Linked DNA regions of Homo sapiens: all the other regions are linked to region 1. The links are contacts of gene promoters, found by promoter capture Hi-C in human tissues and cell types (Jung and others, 2019). All regions are on one chromosome and are shown on one strand. Each heading gives the region's core, a stretch centred on a gene start or on the middle of the fragment in contact. The rest is flanking DNA. Distances are from core to core; before and after follow the strand shown.

The links. The method cuts DNA at HindIII sites, captures the fragments that hold promoters and counts their contacts. A contact is called where the count stands out against the background at its distance.
Region 2: a contact is called between a fragment that was not itself captured here and the fragment with the promoter of TYMS in region 1, in 1 of the 25 tissues and cell types used here (dorsolateral prefrontal cortex).
Region 3: a contact is called between a fragment that was not itself captured here and the fragment with the promoter of TYMS in region 1, in 5 of the 25 tissues and cell types used here (bladder, dorsolateral prefrontal cortex, hippocampus and 2 more).
Region 4: a fragment that was not itself captured here is called in contact with the fragment with the promoter of TYMS in region 1 in 1 of the 25 tissues and cell types used here (mesenchymal stem cells).
Region 5: a contact is called between a fragment that was not itself captured here and the fragment with the promoter of TYMS in region 1, in 1 of the 25 tissues and cell types used here (lymphoblastoid cells).

The regions. Positions count from the first base shown.
Region 1 is chr18:654,674-658,902 of GRCh38, reverse strand. TYMS (thymidylate synthetase) reads right to left here and starts at 1,250. Exons shown (of 7, transcript NM_001071.4): 1 at 956-1,250. The coding sequence starts at 1,160. It overlaps TYMSOS (TYMS opposite strand RNA), which reads left to right and starts at 612. Exons shown (of 2, transcript NR_171001.1): 1 at 612-1,061. RefSeq lists enhancers at 538-657, 525-1,024, 1,025-1,526 and silencers at 888-937, 1,108-1,287. The HindIII fragment of the contact is 10,369 bases long and covers 1-4,229 here.
Region 2 is chr18:302,248-306,688 of GRCh38, reverse strand. No RefSeq gene overlaps it. Among named protein-coding and RNA genes, the nearest start is that of THOC1, 36 kb to the right of the region's middle. The HindIII fragment of the contact is 5,392 bases long and covers 1-4,441 here.
Region 3 is chr18:319,485-324,411 of GRCh38, reverse strand. COLEC12 (collectin subfamily member 12) reads left to right here. Exons shown (of 10, transcript NM_130386.3): 9 at 2,605-2,750; 10 at 4,348-4,927. The coding sequence ends at 4,367. Among named protein-coding and RNA genes, the nearest start is that of THOC1, 54 kb to the right of the region's middle. The HindIII fragment of the contact is 5,241 bases long and covers 57-4,927 here.
Region 4 is chr18:918,783-923,081 of GRCh38, reverse strand. No RefSeq gene overlaps it. Among named protein-coding and RNA genes, the nearest start is that of LINC01904, 7.1 kb to the left of the region's middle. The HindIII fragment of the contact is 4,777 bases long and covers 1-4,299 here.
Region 5 is chr18:142,845-147,690 of GRCh38, reverse strand. No RefSeq gene overlaps it. Among named protein-coding and RNA genes, the nearest start is that of USP14, 13 kb to the left of the region's middle. The HindIII fragment of the contact is 5,775 bases long and covers 1-4,519 here.

The DNA.
Region 1 (4,229 bases), core at 1-2,500:
CTAGATGGGTCCGTGGGCCGGAGGGCTTTTCCGCTAGCTACAGTGAATCTGCTTCACCACGAATGGGTTTCCCCATTCAAAACCACCTCCACCCCTGTGTCAAGGCTGCGCTCCATTTATCTGAGCGGTCAAGGTCAGCCCCTGGCTCACACACCTTCGAGTCCCCTCCCCCGCGCAGCTGGCGCAGGATCCAGGACGGCAGGACGGTGTGGCCTTAGGGAGGGCCAACGGCTGCCTAACGTCCTGTGCCCACCCCGCCCCGCCCCACTGTCCCCTGAAAGCCTGGCGCCAATGACCCGCGAGACATTTTTTGCCTGGGGTGCTCCTGTCGGAAAGGAAAGAGGAAAGGACGACTAAGAACTTATACTCGAACTCCCGAATTTCTCTTTTCAAGGTTTAAGAGGAAAGCTGGTTCGTGGGGATTGGATGGGAGGCCACCAGGAAACCAAGTTCCCGCGCCAGCTTCAGTGCTCTCCTCTTCCCGCCGCCTTTGCCCCGCCCACATCACTTTCGCTCCAGTTTTTGAAAACGCTGCGAAGCGGAATGGTCCACAGGGGAAAACGGAGGAGGGGCCAAAGCCAGGACTTTGAGACCGGCGCGCGGTCAAGCCCAGGCAGCTCTCCCTAACCCTCCAGCACTGGGCAAACGCTGCCCGATGACGCCCGCCTCGGGGGCCACGGCATCACTGGGGCGACTGCGAGCCCGGCCGCGGAGCCGCTGGGACGCGGCTTACCTCCCGGCTGTCGCTGCTGTGTGTGTTGCCCGCGCCAGTCACGTCCCTAATGGGACCCTCCGTTTCGGCGTCTGTAAGGCGAGGAGGACGATGCGTCCCCTCCCTCGCAGGATTGAGGTTAGGACTAAACGGGGTCCGCAGCGCCCGGCAGCTCCCGAGCGCTCTCCCCAGCCGCGCCTCCCTCCTTCCCGCCACCCGTCCCGCAGGGGCCCGCGGCGTCACCTCTCAGGCTGTAGCGCGCCTGCATGCCGAATACCGACAGGGTGCCGGTGCCCGTGCGGTCGTCCTTCCTGACGCCGCAGCGGAGGATGTGTTGGATCTGCCCCAGGTACTGCAGCTCCCCGTGCGGCGGACGCGGCTCGGCGTCCCGCTCCTGTGCGGCGGGGGGCAAGGGCCGGCGCGGCAGCTCCGAGCCGGCCACAGGCATGGCGCGGCGGGCGGGGGACGGAGGCAGGCGAAGTGGCGCGGCGGGACGGAGGCAGGCCAAGTGGCGCGGCGGGACGGAGGCAGGCCAAGTGGCGCGGTGGCAGGACCCCTTCCGCGCGCCTTTTCCCGCGGCCGTCCCGCGCTCCGCCTCTTCCTGCTCGGCGGGGTCGCGGCGGCCCCCGCTCTAGAGAGCGTGCGCCAGGGGGAAACGCAGGAGCCACGGGTGTGGCACAGAACGGAGCCCAGGGCCACAGCTGAGAGTCTTAGGAAACCCGGGAACCTGGATGCAGGTGCGGTGGCTGGGAAGGACTGCGCCCTTTGGGAACCGTCTGGTCGACCGCGCCTTCTCTAAGCCAGCAGCACAGTTCCCACGTTTTCCTGCGGTCTTGTCAACAAAACTGCTGTTTGAGATCTGTTTCCTACAACTAATAAGGGATTTGCATTTCCATTTCTTCGTTCTCACTGAAGCAACCGAAGCAAGTGGTATAATGCAGCTTTTCTACTTGATTAAAAACCGCCAGGGCGCTGGACGCGGTGGCTCACGCCTGTAATCCTAGTACTTTGGGGGGCCGAGGCGGGTGGATCACCTGAGGTCAGGAGTTCAAGACCAGCCTGGACAACATGGTGAAACCCCCGTCTCTACTAAAAGTACAAAAATTAGCTGGGCGTGGTGGCTACTTGGGAGGCTGAGGCAGAAGAATTGCTTGAACCTGGGAGGCAGAGGTTGCAGTGAGCCAAGATCCGACCATTGTACTCCAGCCTGGGCGACAGAGCAAGACTGTCCCAAAAAAAAAAAAAAAAAAAAAAAAAAGACCGCCAGGGCTTTTCCGAGGTTTTTTGTTTGAGCCCTGGCGGTCTTTTTTTTTTTTTTTTGAGACAGAGTCTCGCTCTCTCACCCAGGCTGGAGTGCAATGGTGCGATCTCGGCTCACTGCAACCTCCGCCTCCTGGGTTCAAGCAATTCTGCTGCCTCAGCCTCTCGCGTAGCTGGGACTACAGGCGCCGCCACCACGCCCGGCTAATTTTTTTTTTTCATGTTTAGTAGAGACGGGGTTTCGCCATGTTAGCCAGGCTGGTCTCAAACTCCTGACCTCAGGTGATCCACCCACATTGGCCTCCCAAAGTGCTGGGATTACAGGCGTGAGCCACCGCACTCGGCCCCAAGTTTTTAATAGACCACATTTCCCAGTTTTACTGAATTGTTTATAACATTAACACTGGGGAGTGGGAACTGTTGATGAAAAGAGTTAAACTCTGTAAAATATCTGAAGAAATTTATTCTGAGCCAAATATGAGTGACCAATGGCCGGTGATAGAGCCCTCAGCAGATCCTGAGAACATGTCCCCAAGGTGGTTGGGCTACAACTTGATTTTTTATACATTTGGTTGAAAGAATTGTTATCTAAAGATCTGGAATCAATAGAGGGCTGGGCGCGGTGGCTCACGCCTGTAATCCCAGCACTTGGGAGGTCGAGGCGGGCAGATCACGAGGTCAGGAGATTGAGACCATCCTGGCCAACATAGTGAAACCCTCTCTACTGAAAATACAAAAATTAGTGGGGCGAGGTGGCACACGCCTGTAACCCCAGGTACTCAGGAGGCTGAGGTAGGAGAATCGCTTGAACCCAGGAGGCGGAGGTTGCTTGCAGTAGCTGAGAAAGCGCCACTGCACTCCAGTCTGGGTGACAGAGCCGTATGGGGAAAAAAAAAAAAAAGATTTGAATGAATAGAAAGGAATATCTGGGTTAAGATAAGGGGTTGTGGAGACCATGGATTCATCATGCAGATTAAACCTCCAGGTAGCAGGCTTTAGAGAGATAGATTGTAAATGTTTCTTGTCAGACTTAAAGAGTGTGTTCTACCTGTCTTGAGGCCTGTGTTGATGTCAATGCTGGTCAGCTGTGCCTAAATTCCAAACGGAGGAGGGAATAATGAGGCATGTCTGGCTCCCCTTCCCATCATGGCCTGAACTAGTTTTTGTGGTTAAATTTGGAATGCCTTTGACCCAGAGGAGTGGTCTTTTCAGATGGTTCTGGGCGTAGAATTTTATTTTTGGTTTACAGAACGATTTTATAATGAGTTTAAAATGCACTGATACATGTGTTGTACTTGCAAGCATCCTTTTACCTCAACGGTTGATTGAGTACAGAGGTGCTCTCAGCATTTTGGGTGGGACTTTTCTTAGCTGGACCGGTTTGTTCTGCACATTGCAGGGCTTTAGCAGGACTGTGGAAAGCCAACCATATGTTGGCATTCCCCCACCCCACACCAGCTGAAAACTGTCCCTACACGTTTCCCTACACGTTTCCGAGCACGAGGAAGATCCCAGGCTGAAAATATTCCAGATTATCCAGATGCACGTTATCTGTGTTTAATTTCCTTGTGTTATTCTTTTTCCTTTTTTTTTTTTTTTTTTTTTTTTGAGGTGGAATCTTGCTCTGTCCCTCAGGCTGCAGTGCAGTGGTGCTCAGCTCACTGCAAACTCCGCTGCATGGGTTCAAGCAATTCTGCCTCAGCCTCCCAAGTAGCTGGAACTATAGGCGCCTGCCACCATGCCCAGCTAATTTTTTTTTCTTTTTTTTTTTTTTTGCATTTTTAGGAGAGACAGGGTTTCACCATGTTGGTCAGGCTTGTCTCAGACTTCTGATCTGAAGTGATCTGCCCACCTCGGCCTCCCAAAGTGCTGGGATTAAAGGCGTGAGCCACCATGCCCAGCCTTACTTGTGTTATTTTTTAAAAACCTGATACATAATAATTGTGAGGTAGACAGGGCTTGACTCTGGAGGCAGGGCTCTGACATGGGACCAAATTGAGGAGTAGTCAAAACAAGGATGGGGCAGAAGTAGTTTTCCATAAGACGTGCCCACCAGTGTGCCATGTCAGTTTACGATTGTCATGGCAACATCCAGAGCTTACTGCCCCTTTCCATGGCAGTGAGCCGACAACCGGAAGTTACCACCCTTTTTCTAGACATTTCTGCATAATCTGCCCCTTAATTTGCATGTAATTGAAAGTAGGTTATAAATATCACTGCAGACCTGCCTTTAAGCTACTGCTGTCAGCACACTGCC
Region 2 (4,441 bases), core at 1,293-3,792, 350 kb after region 1:
AGGAACCAGAAGGAGGAGGCAGGTGTGTGTGACCCACTTCCCAGCTCGACTTTTCCCTTTCGCTAAATGATTTTGGGGTCCCCAAATTTAATTTCCTTTCACATTCCCAAGGCCAGCTATTCTCCATTTTCCCAGAAAAGCACTTTTTGTGTATTTCCATACTCAAGGGAGCTGGGAACTTCATACAATAACTGAAGTTTCAGACAGTCCTGGAGAAAAAAAAAAAAAAGCAGGGGAACAAACTGGGACCTCCTTCTAATAGCAGGTGGTCTGGGGTCTGTAGAGGGCCAAGAATTCCGGAATTTCTATATCCCTGATTGGCTTCCTCAGGTGGAATACCCCTCATCCACACCTCCACCCAATGAAATCTGGCCCTCCTTACAAATTCTGCCTCAATGCTACATCCTCCATGAAGACACCAACCAGAACAACTTTTTAAACTCTCTCATGCGTCCTTTGTTCCTCTGAAGGCACTGACCCTCTGCCGGGATTTTTGAGTTCCCGGAGTATTTGTCTACCCCTCCCCTCACAAGGCAATAGGCATCTCTTGAGGCTGTAGCTAGGTCTCTTTCTTTTCTTACTTTTTTTCCCTTCTCATCCTTCATCTGCAGAAAAGGACTATTTTACATTTTTTCATCACCTGGCCCAGCGCCTTATACATGAAATGCACCCAATAAATAGGAATCGGATTGAATTAAAAAACAAACAGAATCCTGGCCGGGTGCGGTGGCTCACGCCTGTAATCCCAGCATTTTGGGAGGCCGAGGTGAGTGGATCATGAGGTCAGGAGATTGAGACCATCCTGGCTAACATGGTGAAACCCCGTCTCTACTAAAAATACAAAAAAATTAGCCAGGCGTGGTGGCGGGCACCTGTAGTCCCAGCAACTCAAGAGGCTGAGGCAGGAGAATGGCGTGAACCCAGGAGGCGGAGCTTGCAGTGAGTCGAGATCGCGCCACTGCACTCCAGCCTGGGCAACAGAGCGAGACTCCTTCTCAAAAAAAAAAAAAAAGAAAGAAAAAAAGAAAACAAATAAACAAACAGAATCCTAAACTGATCTATATTTAATCTGATCTCAAGCTTGTCATATTTGTTTCTAGAAGAAATGAAACAAACAACCAAGGGTTTGTCACCACAGGAGAAGGTGACAGGCTGCCTCTCCCAGCCAAGGATGCGCCATTCTTGGCAGAGCTGCTGTTTGAGAGTATGCGTGACATTGTCGTCTTTTGTCAGACACACTGGTTCCAGTCGCATGACTGATGGCAGCCACTCTGCCCTCTGCCCAGCCCTGTCTCAGCTCCTTATGTAGTTAGTATGAGACTATAAAGCCGTGCAAAACTCAGGAGAGCCTAGAGGTGGCATGAGGCACATCAGTGAGTCACTTGTGTGGACAGAGCTCTGTGTGGCCGTTTTCCTTGGAAACTTGGCTATCGCAGGGCATTTAGGAGGCAGTTCCAGAAAGAAAAAAAAAAATCTGTCATCCAAGACAAAGACAGCAGCTAGCCCTCCTGGGGTAAGACAGCAGAGACTGCTCAAAACCACTTACACAGCTGGGGAGGGCTTGCAAACTGATGCCACTTATTTAGAAAATAAAAGAGAAACCCCAGATACCCTTAGACTGTCTCCAGGGCCAGAGACAGCATTGCCTGGCTCCCCACAGAGCAGCTCAGGAGAATTCAAGTCTTATGGAGAAGGCTCGCATCCCAGATGGCTGCAGAGTGGTAGCCTAGTGCTCTGGTCTAAGTGCTTATATCCCCCCCAAATTCATATGAGGAAATCCTGGCCCCTAGGGTGATGGTATTAGGAGATGGGGTTTTTGGGAGGTGATTAGGTATGGAGTGGAGCTCTTATGAATGGGATTAGCACCCTTATAAGAAGAGACATGAGCGGGGCTAACTTTCTCTCTCTCTCTCTGTCTCTCTCTCTCTTTCTCTCTCTGTGCCCTGTGAGGACACGGCAAGCAGGAGCCATCTATGAACTAGGAAGCAGGCCCTCACCAGATACTAAATCTGCCAGCATCTTGGTTCTTCACTTCCCAGCCTCCAGAAATGTGAGAAATAAATGTCTTGTTTACAGGCCACTCAGTTTATAGCAGTTTGTTATAGCAGCACCCCGAATGGACTAAGACACCCGGCAATGGCTGAGGGAGTGCCCTGGTCAGATGAACTTCAGGGCAGTCTCACAGAACCATAAGCCAAAGGTGCCTGTGAGCCCCTCAAGGAACAGGAAAGTGACTGAACACAAGCCACAATACCAAAGAAGCCAGGGCTAGAGATAAGAAGAGTGTGTGATCTTCACAAACATGATAGGAAACCCAAGAGGACCATGAGGACCAGAAAAGACAGCTCTCAACAGAACTCAGCAAAGGCAGAGGTCAGCGTGCAGCTGAACGCCTCTCATCGCAGGATGATACACATGCCAACCTCCTAGAAACCTAGAACATCCTAGGGGAGGGGAAGGAGGGGGAGAAGGAAGATCTTGCATTAATTGAGTTTGAAACTGTAGGAATCATATTTAGATCCAGAAGGGACTGAGTTACTTTGAATTGATGAAATTAAATTTTCTGCTCCCTGTGGAAATTGGGAAGTCAGTACTCAAGAAACTGACATATACGAGAAGCTGAATGGGCTAACTGTAAAATTAAATACATGTACTAAATATAAAATGAATGTACTAATACCTGTCTCACAGAATTCTTGCAAATTTCATTTCATTAATGTAGGAAAAGCACCTAGCACAGCATCTGGCTCCTAAAATGCAAGCTGCAGTCTTGGTTTCCTTCCTTTCCTTGTCATTCTATCTTTCAAGTCCCTGGTGCAGCTTAGGAAATAACAGCTTTTAGTCAGCCCAGACACCTAATAATATGGCCCAGATGAATGGCTGAGCAGTTTTATGGATAGACAAAAGAGTGGCCGCTCCTTAAAGAGGAGGTTAGCTCCACCCATAGGAAAGATGAGACCCTGAGAAGAGAGCAAGGAAGAAGCTGTGTTTTTTAAAGAGTTGGGCTGAGGAGTTTGAGACCAGCCTGGGCAACAAGGTGAGACTCCACCGCTACCAAAAATTAAACTTAAAAAAATTAGCTGGTTGTGGTGGTGCACAACTATGGGCCCAGCTACAAGGGAGGCTAAGGCATGAAGATTGCTTGAGCCCAGCAGGTCGAGGCTGCAATGAACAGTGTTCTCACCACTGCACTCCAGCCTGAGTGACACCAGCAAGACTCTGTCTAAAAAAAAAAAAAAAAAAAAAGAGTTGGGCTGACGAGCAACTCCTTAATCCCACCTAGGGACTTTGTAGTCTGCGAATCAATACAGTGGCTAAATTATTAAATGTCCTCCCTAGCACTGTATTTGGAAGAAATCTCAAGAGAAAGGTTATTTCTTTCCATGCTCATACTAGACTGGGGATCATCATCCTACAGTCCACAGGCCAAATACAGCCCACTGTCTGTTTTTATAAATAAAGTTTTATTGGAACACAGCTGTGTTCATTGTGTACTGTCTATGGCTGCTTTTGAACTACAATGGCAGAGCTGAATAGTTGCAACAGAAACCATAATGGCCTGCAAAGCTGAAAATATTCACTATCTGTCCCTTTGCAGAAAAAGTTTGCCAATACTTACAGTAGACATATAATTTATTCTTCTATAGTGCTTAGAAATTATTTCACAGAGCTGGGTGTGGTGGCTCATGCTTGTAATCCCAGCACTTTGGGAGGCCAAGGCGGGTGGATCACTTGAGGTCAGGAGTTCGAGACCAGCCTGGCCAACATGGTGAAACCCTGTCTCTACTAAAAATGCAAAATTAGCTGGGTGTAGCGGCACGTGCCTGTAATCCCAGCTACTCGGGAGGCTGAGGCAGGGGAATTGCTTGAACCTGGGAGGTGGAGGTTGCAGTGAGCTGAGATCGCACCACTGCACTCCAGCCTGAGTGACAAGAGTAAAACTCCACCTCAAAAAAAAAAAAAGAAAGAAAGAAACTATTTCACACATATAATTTTATCTATTTAGGGCCAAATACCTCTATGGATTAAGATATTTTATCAGTCCTATTATTATTATGTTGCTATTATGCTTCTACTTTACAAAATGAGGACCCTGGGGCTCAGAGTGTTAATGGACTTGCTGCTGGGTAGCAGAGCCCTAAACCTAGTCCTATCTCCATTCCACTATTTTCCCACTCTCCTTACAATATAATAATAATATAATTGGGAGTCATAATGTGACCTACCGTTTCAGGGCACACAGAATCATCTTAATTAGCTTTAAAAGCAAAGTGGTACCTTCAAAACCACTCTTGTAAGACGTCACCAAAAATAGCACCACTGGTCAGAAATGTTCCTTTGGCTCAGTGTTAGAAGTCCACACCCAGCCCAAGGCCACATCAAGTTTCCTGCCTATGGAAATGAGGTTAGCAGCGAGCCTGAAGTCACGTCACGTGGCATG
Region 3 (4,927 bases), core at 1,428-3,927, 340 kb after region 1:
ATGTATGTGCTGCTACCGCTCACTTCTGTGACATGTGTATGATAATGTAGAATTCAGGGCTTTGAGCCCCAGACTTCAGCCATTCATCTTGCCAGAATCTACCTGTGAATGAGGTTAAGCACTATTTAAGCTGACATTCTTCTCCAAAATATATACATTTTGCTTATTTGACACGTTACGTTCTATATTATTATAAACATGCAGACTGAGGGGTTTTGCCACAAATCACTCCATGTGATTTTAGCTTTGCCAAAGAGATGCTTTGAGACTCTGGGTGGTCAGCCCACAGAATAAATTGTCCCTTCAGTCTGGCTTCAGGCTACCCACTTTCCACCCATTCTGGCCTACTGCAGTCACCTCCGCTTATGGCCACAGAACTGCATTCTGCTTTTAGTCCTAAGGAAAGCCTTGAGTACTGTATGTGAAGAATTCCAGTGACCTGGAAAAACAAATGGAGAAAGGCGATAAAGATTATCTCCTTTCTTATCACTCAGTTATTTCTCTGCCTGGTTGATACATCCTTTTTATTTATTTAACTTAAAATGACTTAAAAGGAAACGCAAGGGGAAAATATTAAGCAGGACTTCTAAGCCCAAAGAAGTCATATTTATATAATTTCCCAATTAACTGAGAAGTCAAGAATATCAAATATCCTATCATTATACATTCAGGAATCATAGATCTCAAATTTTATAAACAAAAATGGAATCAAACCCCCCATATTACTGGCAGAAATGAACGAAATGTATGTCCACAAGATTAAACTGCTCAGGCATTGTTGACATCTCCAGAAGAATCTCACAAGGTGAAAAGAGTTACACAAAAAACCAAATGTGAAAGTAAACTACTTTTCTTTCCAACTTCATCTCTATCTGGCGTCAGGCTGAGATTGTCACAGGCTGAGATTTTGAACTCATTGTGACTCATCTGTTATGTAAGCTGTAAGAGTTGGGACTTTGTCTCTTCTCTGCACTGCTATGTTGCCATCACCCAGATGATACCTGGCTCATAGCAGGAGTGCTATGGATGCCTGGTGTGAGTGAGTGAGTGAGACTATTTTCTAACTCTCCCTTCTAAGTAGCATCCCATTTTTACTCTCACCAATCGATGGTTTCCTCTGAATTCTCTTTCATCACTAGGTTTATTTAATTGAGGCCACTCAATGTATATATATATATGTATTTTTGAGATGGAGCCTCGCTCTGTCACCCAGGCTGGAGTGCAGTGGCATGATCTTGGCTCACTGCAAACCTCCACCTCCTGGATTCAAGCAATTCTCCTGCTTCAGCCTCCCAAGTAGCTGGGACTACAGGTGCCTGCCACCATGCCCAGCTAATTTTTGTATTTTTAGTAGAGACAGGGTTTCGCCATGTTGGCCAGGCTGGTCTCGAACTCCTGACCTCAGGTGATCCATCTGCCTCAGCCCCCCAAAACGCTGGGATTACAGGCATGAGCCACTACGCCCGGCCTTCATACTCATTTTTTTTAAATCCCAAAATACACATTTGGTGTGGGGGAGTCAGTTCTACCCTGTCCCCACCCTTTGACTAAACTTCAACTGTCCTTTCCCGCTGCCTCTGGTTTTGCGGGTGTTATTGTCCAAAGATACAGGGCCATACAGGCTGTCTCCTCGGGTGACCCGAGGACACCCTGTGGCCAGTGCGGTAATGAGTCATTGTTTATAGGAAGCACCCTCCGCTGCAGATGTTCTTCCAGACCCTCCACATGAGGCAGGCTTGTCCTCTCAGGCAGCAGCCACAAGCTTCTGTGCATGAATCTGCTTCTTAGACAAGATTGAACCTTCAAGGGGTGAGTCTGGAAGCACACCTGATTTATTCGTGGAAACGTAATCAAGAACTGTTATCCATGGCAAGGTGCTGTTCTGAGCAGCAGCATCCAAGTTAAGAAGCCCCATGTGAACTCATCCTAAAGAAAACTTGTTTTTAAGAATCTCTCTCCCAAAAAAGGGAGTGAAATGTAGGAGTCATTTTCAGTAAGATTAAGTTACTATTTCTTTCTAAAGCAATCAACCTTCTACAACTCACCCAGACAATCATAACCAGTTATTTGTAATTGTAGGTTCTTGTAAATGTATATCAAAAGTCTTTCACTTTCTCTTCCTGGCTCTTGGACTTGTTAGAGGCAAGATATTGAAATGTACAAGGTCCCTCTGGGTTCTCACAAGATCATGTGTGCGTGTGTGTGTGTGTGTGTGTGTATCATGTCCTCATAATGAATAGATATTCACACACATATATACACTCATGCCCAGAAGTCAGCATTCCAGTACACATTAGAAAGTTATTCATCTAACTGTCCCAAAGCAAGATTCGCTCCCTCTGCATTCTGATGAACCAGCCTAGTGAGTTTGGTTCATGGTAGCAAAGATCACAAGCGCGCAGGGAGATGCCGCATTATGCATTACTCTGCAAAACAGCTGCTCCTTTCTCTGAATAAGAGCATGTACTGATTTTTAAACTGCATTTTCATTCCAGGATAAATGACATGCTTCAATTTTGTTTTTTTATATTCTCTGCTGCTCTTGAGTAAAGAAAAGCTCTGCATTACTGTGCAAATAACATTCAATTTCTGTTTTGCTAAAAGAAATTGGAAAGCTGGACAGCCGGATAACTGGGGTCATGGCCATGGGCCAGGAGAAGACTGTGCTGGGTTGATTTATGCTGGGCAGTGGAACGATTTCCAATGTGAAGACGTCAATAACTTCATTTGCGAAAAAGACAGGGAGACAGGTGAGCAGTAGATGGGATTTAAGAGGGAGCTGCCAGCTTATGTCCTATGAAAGGGTGAGGGGTGGTGAGTACAAGGGCCCTGAATGCAGGCACTGCAATTAGGTTTCAGCCCTGGTTATGCCATTTATTAACTGGGCAGGTGATTAACCTCAGGGAAATAGTAATAGCATCTTCTTCACGAGGTTGTGAAGATTTAAATAAGTTAATAAATGTGCCTCACATGTAGGAAGTACTCAACGAATGCTAAACTAACTGACCCACATAAGTATCTTATATTGTGAGTTAATTGTTCTTTAAAATATAGCACCAGCCAGGCACGGTGGCTCACGCCTGTAATCCCAGCACTTTGGGAGGTGGAGGCGGGCAGATCACCTGATGTTGGGAGTTTGAGACCAGTCTGGCCAACACGGAGAAACCCCATCTCTACTAAAAATACAAAATTAGCCGGGCATGGTGGCGCATGCCTGTAATCCCAGCTACTCAGGAGGCTGAGGCAGGAGAATAGCTTGAACCCAGGAGGCAGAGGTTGTGGGGAGCCGAGATCGCACCATTGCACTCCAGCCTGGGAAACAACAGCGAAACTCCATCTCAAAAAAGAAAAGAGATATAGCACCAATGTTAGTTCTTTTCCGTAGACATCCATACACAGCTAATCCAGGTGGCCAAGCGTTCAATTCCACGTGTATCTATTGAGCATCTACTATAGGCCAGATCCTGTGATACATAATAGAGGGAGATGGTCTGTGCTGCTTATCAGCTCATAAGCCAAAGCAGCTTTTGGAGATTTTCTTGACTTCAAAGGCTATGTATCTAAAGCTTCATTTAACACACGACCCTCTTTGGAATGTGGCATCTTAGTTTTCTTCACCAGAATGAGATTAAAAGTTTGTGATAGGGGACAGAGGAAATGGGGAATGAATGCTAATGGGTATGGGGTTTCTTTTTGGGGTGATGGAAATGTTCTAAAATTAGATTAGATTGGTTCTAAATTGCATAACTTTGTGACTATACCAAAGACCACTGAATTATATGCTTTAAATGGGTGAATTATACAATTTGTCAATTATATTTCAATAAAGCTGTTCATATAAAAACAAAAACCTCAAATATATTTTGGTCAAACTATTTTTGGAAGTAACTGGGGCATAAATTATCCGTATTGCCATTCAACAGACAGTTACTGAGCACCTTTGATGTGTCAGGCATTGGTCCAAGTGCTAGGGACCTTAAGACACATAGGAACTCACAGCTGGGTCAGTTGAGGGGGAAAAACACAGATATCTAAACAAGGGATTATAATTGATGGTGACAAGTAACTCAGATTTGTCTTTTGTATGCTTTGTTTGGCCATTTGGGATTTGAGTAGGGACCAGGCTTTCCCAGAATAGGCTTTTCAAAATGAAACTTGGCTTTTCAAAATGAAACTTATCTTTTCATCCAAATAAGATCTTCTAGACATTTCTTTGAAAATATAAGCATTGTTGAATGATGTATTTTAGACACTGTCCTATAAAAATACACGTTCCCTTTTTTTGAATTGCACATTAACTTTATTATTTAAGAAAAACTAATGCCCATTCTTATTTCTCTCTTTTAGTACTGTCATCTGCATTATAACGGACTGTGATGGGATCACATGAGCAAATTTTCAGCTCTCAAAGGCAAAGGACACTCCTTTCTAATTGCATCACCTTCTCATCAGATTGAAAAAAAAAAAGCACTGAAAACCAATTACTGAAAAAAAATTGACAGCTAGTGTTTTTTACCATCCGTCATTACCCAAAGACTTGGGAACTAAAATGTTCCCCAGGGTGATATGCTGATTTTCATTGTGCACATGGACTGAATCACATAGATTCTCCTCCGTCAGTAACCGTGCGATTATACAAATTATGTCTTCCAAAGTATGGAACACTCCAATCAGAAAAAGGTTATCATTGGTCGTTGAGTTATGGGAAGAACTTAAGCATATACTGTGTAAACAGTGCCATACATTTCTAAAATCCCAAGTGTAGGAAAAATATGCAGACATACAGATATATAGGCCAACTATTAGTAATAATATGAAATATACTTAAAGAGCTTTTAAAACTTTGTATTTTTGTACAAAATATTTGTCTTTTACAATTTTTTTCCTTTTTTTTTTTTTGTCATTTTACCGACATAATACATGGAGC
Region 4 (4,299 bases), core at 759-3,258, 260 kb before region 1:
TGATTATATTCATTTAATAATTGAATTATATTGCCAAAAGGATGGACTACTATTTGTGAGATACAGACCTATTAAAAACACATGAAGATAAGAGATACCTGCATTTTCATGTCCATTGAAACGCTATTCACAATAGCCAAAATACGGAAACAACCATCTGTTGATATGCCCATCAACAGATCAATTGATAAAGAGTACGTGACATATACGTGCAATGAAATATTATTCAGCCATGAAAAAGAAGAAAATCATGTGCTAGAGCAGGGATGAGCCTTAAAGACATTATGATAAGTGAGATAAGCCAGACCCAAAAGGACAAATACCATGCGAGTCCACTTCTATGAGGTATCTAAAGTAGTCGAATCCACCAAAGCAGAAAGGACAGTGGTTGCCAGGGCCTGAGCGGATGGCAAAATGGGGAGGTGTTCAAAAGGTAGAAAGTTTCAGTTATGCAAGATGAAAAAGTTCTATAGATCTGCTGTACAACATTGCGCTTATAGTAAACAACACTGCACATACGGTACACTTAAAAATTTGTTGAGGGTAGATCTCATGTTATGTTTTTAAACACAAATTTTTAAACCTGATTATTCTCTACTGCATTGTAAATCGCAGACTGAATTGACTGTAAAATTATGTGCATGTCAAAAAAATATTACACACACGCAATGAGGATAGAGTAAGAACAAATGAAAACAGGGTTCTGGTGCAGACTCAGGCTGGGTCTGCTATGCTCAGCATCCCTAAATCTAGAACCAGAGCCAGCTTCATGGGTGTATGAACCATACGCTATGCTCAGAACAGGCACACACTTGGTTTAATACTCTGCTGTTGCTATCTAGAAATTCTTAATAATTTTTTTAAATTTTCATTTTGTACTGGGCTCCACAAATTATGTAGCTAGTCCTTCCCAGAACTAACTGTGTCTGTTTACACACATACATCGTTCATTCTGTGTGACTGGAAATTTCTGGTGTCCAACCATTATTATATAATCTGCGCAAGATGGAGCAAATGTTATGAAATAAGAAAATATGTCAAGATGTTAGACACAGGTGGTTTGCTAAAGGCTGCTTTTGTAACCATATAAAGAAATTAAGCTGCGGGGTTGGGGCATTGTAATTGAGGGTAAAAGAGATTTGGAAATCCCTTACTTTGGGCTTCCCTCTACCCAACAGGACCCAAGATGTACCTGTGGGCAGGCAAATTACCATTGCTACCCACCCAAGCCCGTCTCCCTCAAGGAATTGGGAAGACCTGGAAAACCATGCTCATCAAATTTCCTCTAGCACTAGCCTGCTGTCTCCTGATATTCTTCACTAAAAATGGATCCTTTGTGCTTATCATAGTAATGGTGACTTCTAGAAAATGTAAGCGATGAATGTTCTTTTTTGCCAAGCCTCCAGCTCAGTTCGCTAAAGGAATTTTTCAGGATCATCAGAAGGAATCGGAAAAAACAGATGCTTTCAGAGACTTGAATTAAGTATCCTTGCAACAACCAGGCAATAAAGTTGAATGTAGTTTTTAGACAACTTAAATGAAAATGGAAAGTTAAGTCTGGTCTAAATGACTATAATCTATACAGAGATAATTTATTAAGAATAACTTAAAAATATATTTATTTCAAGGTATAATCAGACAAATCCTTACTCCCTCAGTTTGTCTAAGTTTTTTTTTAATCTCATAGTAGGATGCCTTTTATAGTAATGTCAGCGATATAAACTACTCATTAACACTAATTGTCAACTTTAACCTATTAAAAAGAGAGAGAGAGAGGTTCTTGCTTACTACACCTCAAACAAAGATCCCATAAGAAAAGACAGGATCCTGCACCAGGTGTGTTGGTTCATGATTATAAACCCAGTATTTTGAGAGGCACAGGCAGGAGGATTGCTTGAGCCCAGGAGTTCGAGACAAGACTGGGCAACATAGTGAGACCTCCTCTCTACAAAAAATAAGCAAACGTAGCTGGCCATGGTGGCATATGCCTGTAGTCCCAGCTATTCAGGAGGCTGAGGTGGGAAGATCACTTGAGCCTGGGATGTCAAGGCTTCAGTGAGCCACGATCATGCCAGTGCACTCCAGCTTGGGCAACAGAGTAAGACCCTGGACCCTGTCTCCAAAGACAAAAAGGAAAAACAAAGATCCTCTCTCCATTACTGATAATATGCACTCATTAATTTATGAAAAATCTAGAGGCCTTCCTTTGGTAGTTTCATATCTCCTTTTTCATCAGCTCTTCCACCAGGATGCCTAGGAATCAGCAGATTGAACTGGCTTGCATTTTTGTTTCTTCTCCTTCCTTCTCTCTAATTGAAGCACAATTAAATAAACTTATGATCAGAAGAGTCTGATAATGGGATCATCAGCTCCTTACATAATTACAAAAGTTGTGTAGGCAAGATGTGCCCCCTACAAAATCATACTCCCAAGACAGGTTCTATCTAATTATGCTAAGAGCATCATTTCTTTCCCCAGCTCACTCCATGACCAATCATCTGGCTTGCACATGTAAGAAAGTTTATGAGAATAAATAAATCAGACTACCTTTCCCTGATGAACCCTGTTTACACTCAAAGTGGACTAGCCAGAAGAGATCCTAGCAGGGGATAATCCAAGAACATCTGCACCTACAAGTGAGATGGAAAATTTCCTGCCACTCAAGAGTCTCATGTCTGTTGTTTGAATGCCTTATTTTCTTTACCACTTCTCATCAAAGCTTACATTTTGGAAACATCCATGGCAATGGACAAGGACAAATATACTTGAGGGCTTTGAGTAACTCCAAGGAATTTGAGTTTTATATTAATGCCCTCCATTTTCTTAGAAAACAAATTCATTTGGTCAATCTATAACTTTTGGTAAGCAACCTATTATCTGCAAGTTCTGTTACCATTCCTGCCTGTCATCGGACAGCATAAAATTTATCACCGGTTTAGATCAGAAGATAACAAGAAAAATGGAATGGAAAGCAGTCCTTCAAAACTGAGACAACCTCAGCAAACATTTTCAGTATTCAAAGGAGTATGCTTTGACTTAATCGTTCAACAAGTTTTTGTTGTAGCCCAAATCCTTCCTAATATCTAATCAAAATCTTTCTATGTGGCTGGGCATGGTGGCTCATGCCTGTAATCCTAGCACTTTGGGAGGCCAAGATGGGTGGATCACCTGAGGTCAGGAGTTCGAGACCGGCCTGGCCAACATGGTGAAACCCCGTCTCTACTAATAACACAAAAATTAGCCGGGCACAGTGGCACATGCCTGTAATCCCAGCTACTTGGGAGGTTGAAGTACGAGAATCACTTGAACCCGGGAGGCAGAAGTTGCAGTAAGACAGGATCGCGCCACTGCACTCCAAAGTGAAATGGTGTCTCAAAAAAAAAAAAATCTTTCTATGCTATACCTTAAATTATATAAATCATATTTTTTCATGTTGTCTGTGTGGTAGAGAACTACTTGCCAACTTTCATAGAATTAATTTCAATTCAACAAATAGTGATTTAGTGCCCATTACGTGCCAAATACTACAGGCTCTAAGAATAGGAAGTTGAATAATTATGGTCCTCTTCCCATCAGCAAAATACATGCATGCAGCTACATGCTAAACTAGGAATATGAAGAAATGCAGCAGAAAAACAGAGAAAGGAGCTGGTTCTTCCCTGAAAGATCAGTAGCATTTCACTAGGAGGGCAAAGGGATAGAGCACTATTCTAGAGACAGGGGACCACAAACAAAAGGTGATAGATAAGAGCAGGAAACTAGAGTGAAGAGAACTGCTAAATACATGCTAAAGACTTTGGACTTCATCCAGTAGGCCACAGGAAGGCATAAACATTTATCAAGCCAGCATAGGGTAGTAGCATGACCAGAGTCTTATTTTAGATCTGTCCGGAGGCAGAGAAGACTGAACCGGGGGGAGTCACTAGAGCCAAGTTTGAGAGGCTATTGCAAAAACAGCCAAAAGATTATGTGAATGTGGAGTTCTGCAGAAAATAGGATTGAAAAATCCTAAGATTTTGTGACCAATTAAATGAATGGAGTAATGGGGAGGAAAAGGAAGGGCACTCTGCAATACATCGGTTAAGAAGTGTGGTGGATATGATGCCAAAAAAAAAGAGGAGGAATAAATGTGGATAATATTCTCATCTGGGAACATATAATCGGCCTCCATATCCATGGGTTCTGCATCTGTGAATTCAACCAACTGCAAATGGAAATATTCCAAAAAATTACATGTGTATGAACATGTACAGACTTTTTTCTCGTCATTAATCCCTAAACAATAATGACTTTTACACA
Region 5 (4,846 bases), core at 383-2,882, 510 kb after region 1:
TAGGTGTGCACCACCACACCCAGCTTTTTTTTTTTTTTTTTTTTTTTTTGAGGCTGAGTCTCGCTCTGTTACCCAGGCTGGATGTAGTGGCGCGAGCTCTGCTCACTGCAAGCTCCGCCTCCCGGGTTCACGCCATTCTCCTGCCTCAGCCTCCCGAGTAGCTGGGACTACAGGTGCCCGCCAATGCGCCTGGCTAATTTTTTTTTTTTTTTGTATTTTTAGTAGAGACGGGATTTCACCGTGTTAGCCAGAATGGTCTCGATCTCCTGACCTCGTGATCTGCCTGCCTTGGCCTCCCAAAGTGCTGGGATTACAGGCGTGAGCCACCGCGCCCGGCCTCACTGCACTGTTCATTGACCTTAGAGTGTTTCCTGACTGCTGTTATATAAGATAAGAAAATTAGAATTTTTAGCCTTCCCTTCCCTTTTTATTTCCTTCACTTCCGATGTCTTTCAGCTACACCATTACTTATATAGTGAAAGATTTTCAACAACAGAAACTAAGAACATTATAGAATTAAGAAGAGGCCGGTCACGGTGGCTCACGCCTGTAATCCCAGCACTTTGGGAGGCCGAGGCGGGCGGATCACGAGGTCAGGAGATCGAGACCATCCTGGCTAACACGGTGAAATCCCGTCTCTACTAAAAATACAAAAAAAAATTAGCCGGGCGTGATGGCGGGCGCCTGTAGTCCCAGCTACTCGGGAGGCTGACGCAGGAGAATGACGTGAACCCGGGGGGCGGAGCTTGCAGTGAGCCGAGATCGCGCCACTGCAGTCCAGCCTGGGCGACAGAGCGAGACTCCGTCTCAAAAAAAAAAAATAAATAAATAAAAATAAATAAATAAATAAATAAATAAATAAATAAAAAATTAAGAAGAAATGGACAAAAGTGATGGAAGCCCCAGAGGGCTGGGCAACGGAGTGATTTCTGGCAATGAGACCTGCTGAAGACGTTGCTGCCGAGAGGAACGAATTCTTTCACCATATTATTAACATTAGCTATATTAACAGTACTTTCAGTCAGGGTAGGTAGGTGAAGCGCTCTCTTGCATAAGTACTAGATAGCCTCACTTATTCTGTGTATGTCTGCAAATATCTTTATTTCAATCTTGTTCTTGCTGATCGGTTAGCTGAGTAGAGATTAATAGATTGGCAGTAATTTTCCTGAGCACTTTGAAGAAATTTCGTTGTCTTCTGTCATTTACTATTGCTGATGAAACTTTTTTTGTTAAGTTTAATTTGTTGTTACCTTGTAGATAAGGTCTTCTCTCTCTAATAACTCTTAGAATTTTCTCTTTGTTCTTAATATTCTGCAGTTTCATGTAGCGTGTTCAGCTGTGTATTTAATTTATCCATCTCAGTACTAGGAGTGAAGTTTTGAGCTGAGACTTAGGTTTTTGGATGCTGCTTATTCTCTGTTTTGAAACTACCATTGTTTTTTTAAAAAATAAAAATTTCTTTTAATTATTTATTTATTTAGTAGAGACAGGGTTCCACCATGTTATCCAGACTGGTCTGGAACTCCTGAGCTCAAGCAATCCTCCTGCCTCAGCCTCCCAAAGTGCTGGGATTACAGGCATGAGCCACCATACCCAGCCAAAATTTTCTCTTATAATTCATATTTTTAAAAATTAACAAAATTTTTTATTCTTGCTGTCATCTTACAAGTGGGTTTTTATTGAAGCTTCTCTTTTCTTTCTTTCTTTCTTTTTTTTTTTTTTTTGAGACAGGGTCTCACTGTGTCACCCAGGCTGGAGTGCAGTGATACAATTCTCTGCTCACTGCAGCCTCAACCTCCCAGACTCAGGTGATCCTCCCACCTCAGCCTCCCAAGTAGTTGGGATTATAGGTATGCGCCACCATGCCTGGCTAATTTTTGTATTTTTTGTAGAGACGGGGTTTCACCATATTGCCCAGGCTGGTCTCAAACTCCTGGGCTCAAGCAATCTGCCCACCTTGGCCTCCCAAAGTGCTGGGATTATAGGTGTGAGCCACCTCGCCTGGCCTGTTGAAGATTCTACATCCTTCATTTGTCTTACCTGGTCTCTCATATTCTTTTATCTCTTTATCTCTGTGGTAAATTATGTTTGAATTCTCAGTACTCTCTTCCAAATCATTAATTCTCTCTCTGTCCAGTCAGCCGGTTTTCCCGTCTATTGTTTTATATTTTAATGATTATATTTTACACTTCCAAGATTGCTTATTGGTTCTTTTTTATAATTGTCCTGTCTTGTGTAATATTTTTGTTTTCTTTTCATAATTTATTGGTCTTTTTGAAAAGAATATGATCCCTTTAAACTAATATTTTTGTCATTACTATTTTTTAACTTATTATTTGAAGTAATTTCAAAATTACAGTAAATTTGCAAGAGTAATACCAGGAACTCTTGTTTACCCTTCACTAACATTTCACCATAGTTGCTATATATGTGTGTGTATATATATATATATATATAATATATAGTTATAGATACATAGATATAAATCTATATATAGACACTCATGACATTTGTGTTAATCATTTGAGAGTAAGTTGCAGATATGATGTATATTTAGCTCTAAATAAATCAGTGTTATTCCGTAAGAACAAGAACATTCACTTGTATAACCATAGGACAACTACCAAAATCAGGATATTCACCATAATACAATAACACTATTACCTAATCTATAGACTTTATTCAAAGGACATTTTTGCAAAATGTCCTTTCTAGTAATTTTTTTTCTAGTCCAGGATCCAATCCAAGATCATGCCTTGCATTTAGAGTTACGGTTTTTAATCTTTGTAAATTTCAAACAATAATTCCCCAGCCTAATTTTCATCTTTTAAAGACTTTTACATAAAAGAAAATTCACCTAGAATAAAATCATTATGCCAGTTGCATAGTGGATAGTACAATGAACCTCTGTATTCCCATATCAAGATTTAACAAAATTCAAGTTTTGCCTATTTGTCTCATCTATTCTTTCCCCCTTTTTCTTTGCTTAAGAACCTCTATTAACCATCCCTAAAAGTATAGGAATTATTTTCTTATATAGCTATAATATCATTATCTTACCTAACAAAATTAACAATATTTTCTTGGTATTATCTATTTTGTAGACCATAGTCAACTTCCCCAGTTGTTTTTAAAATGGTGGGGTTTTTTTGCTGGTTTTCTTGTTTGTTTTTATTTGTTGATTATAGTTTATTTCTTAGAGTTAGGATCCAAATGAGATCCATAGATTACATTTGTTATGCCTCTTAAGTTCCTTTTGAAATAAAGCTGCGGCCTCTCTCTCTTTTTTTTTTTGGACAGAGTGTTATCCAAGCTGGAGTGCAATGGTGCGATCTTGGTTCACTGCAACCTCCACCTCCCAGGTTCAAGCGATTCTCCTTCCTCAGCCTCCGGAGTAGCTGGGATTATAGGCTCGCACCACCACGCCCAGCTAATTTTTTTTTTATTTTTAGTAGAGATAGGGTTTCACCATATTGGCCAGGCTGGTCTCCAACTCCTGGCCTCAAGTGATCCGCCCACCTCGGCCTCCCAAAGTGCTGGGATTACAGGCGTGAGCCATCGCACCCAGCGGCTGCTGCCTTTCTTTAACCTCACTACGTTATTTTCATGCCATTAACTTTTAGAAAAGCCAGGTAAGCCATTCCATAATATGAAATGTCCCATATCCTGGAGTTGTTGGTTTGCTGCTTTGTGGCACCATTTACCTTGATTTTCCCTGTATTTCTTGTAAGAGAAATTAGCTGTAGAGACTTGATTACATTCTAGCTAAGCCTTTTTTTACAGAAATACTCCAAGAATGATGCTGTGTGCTTCACGTTGCATTGGATGAGGAGGCGCACAGCATCTGATGGTCCCAGGCTTACTAATGATCAGGTGAGCTTGATGGCGGGGCAGAGTTTAGGTGAGACTCTGTGATCTCCCCATTGTTAGGCTCCCTGTTGTGAACCAAAGGTATCTGAGACAGGTCCCAATCAATTCAGAAAGTTTATTTTGCTAAGGTTAAGGACACTCCCAAGACACACCCTCAGGAGGTCCTGACGACATGTGCCCAAGGTGTATGGGTACAGTGTGTTTTTATACATTTTAGGGAGACATAATACCTCAGTCAATACATGTAGGATATACGCTGGTTCGATCTGGAAGGGAGGAAGGGTGGGGCAACTCGGAGTGGTGGGGAGAGCCTTCCAGATCATAGGTAGATTTAAAAATTCTGATTGCCAGTTGGTCGAAAGAGTTATCAATAGCTGGGCACGGTGGCTCACGCCTGTAATCCCAGCATTTTAGGAGTCCCAGGCTGGTGGATCACCTGAGGTTGGGAATTTGAGACCAACCTGACCAACGTGGAGAAACCCCATCTCTACTAAAGATACAAAATTAGTCGGGAGTGGTGGCGCATGCCTGTAATCCCAGCTACTCAGGCGGCTGAGGCAGGAGAATCGCTTGAACCTGGGAGGCAGAGGTTGCGGTGAGCCAAGATCCCGCCATTGCACTCCAGCCTGGGCAACAAGAGTGAAACTCCATCTCAAAAAAAAAAAAAGAAAGTTATCAATAGAAAGGAATGTCTGGGTTATGATAAGGGGTTGTGGAGCCCAAGGTTTTATCATGCAGATGAAGCCTCCAAGTAGCAGACTTCAGAGAGAATAGATTGTAAATGTTTCTTATCAGACTTAAGGTCTGTGTCGATATTAATGCTGGAGAGGTATAATGAGGTACACCTAAACCCCTCTTCCATCATGGCCTGAACTAGTTTGTCAGGTTCACTCTGGAATGCCCTTAGCTGAGAGGAAGGGTCCATTCATATGGTTGGGGGACCGTCTAATTTGCAGGATGACTCACTGTTTTCATC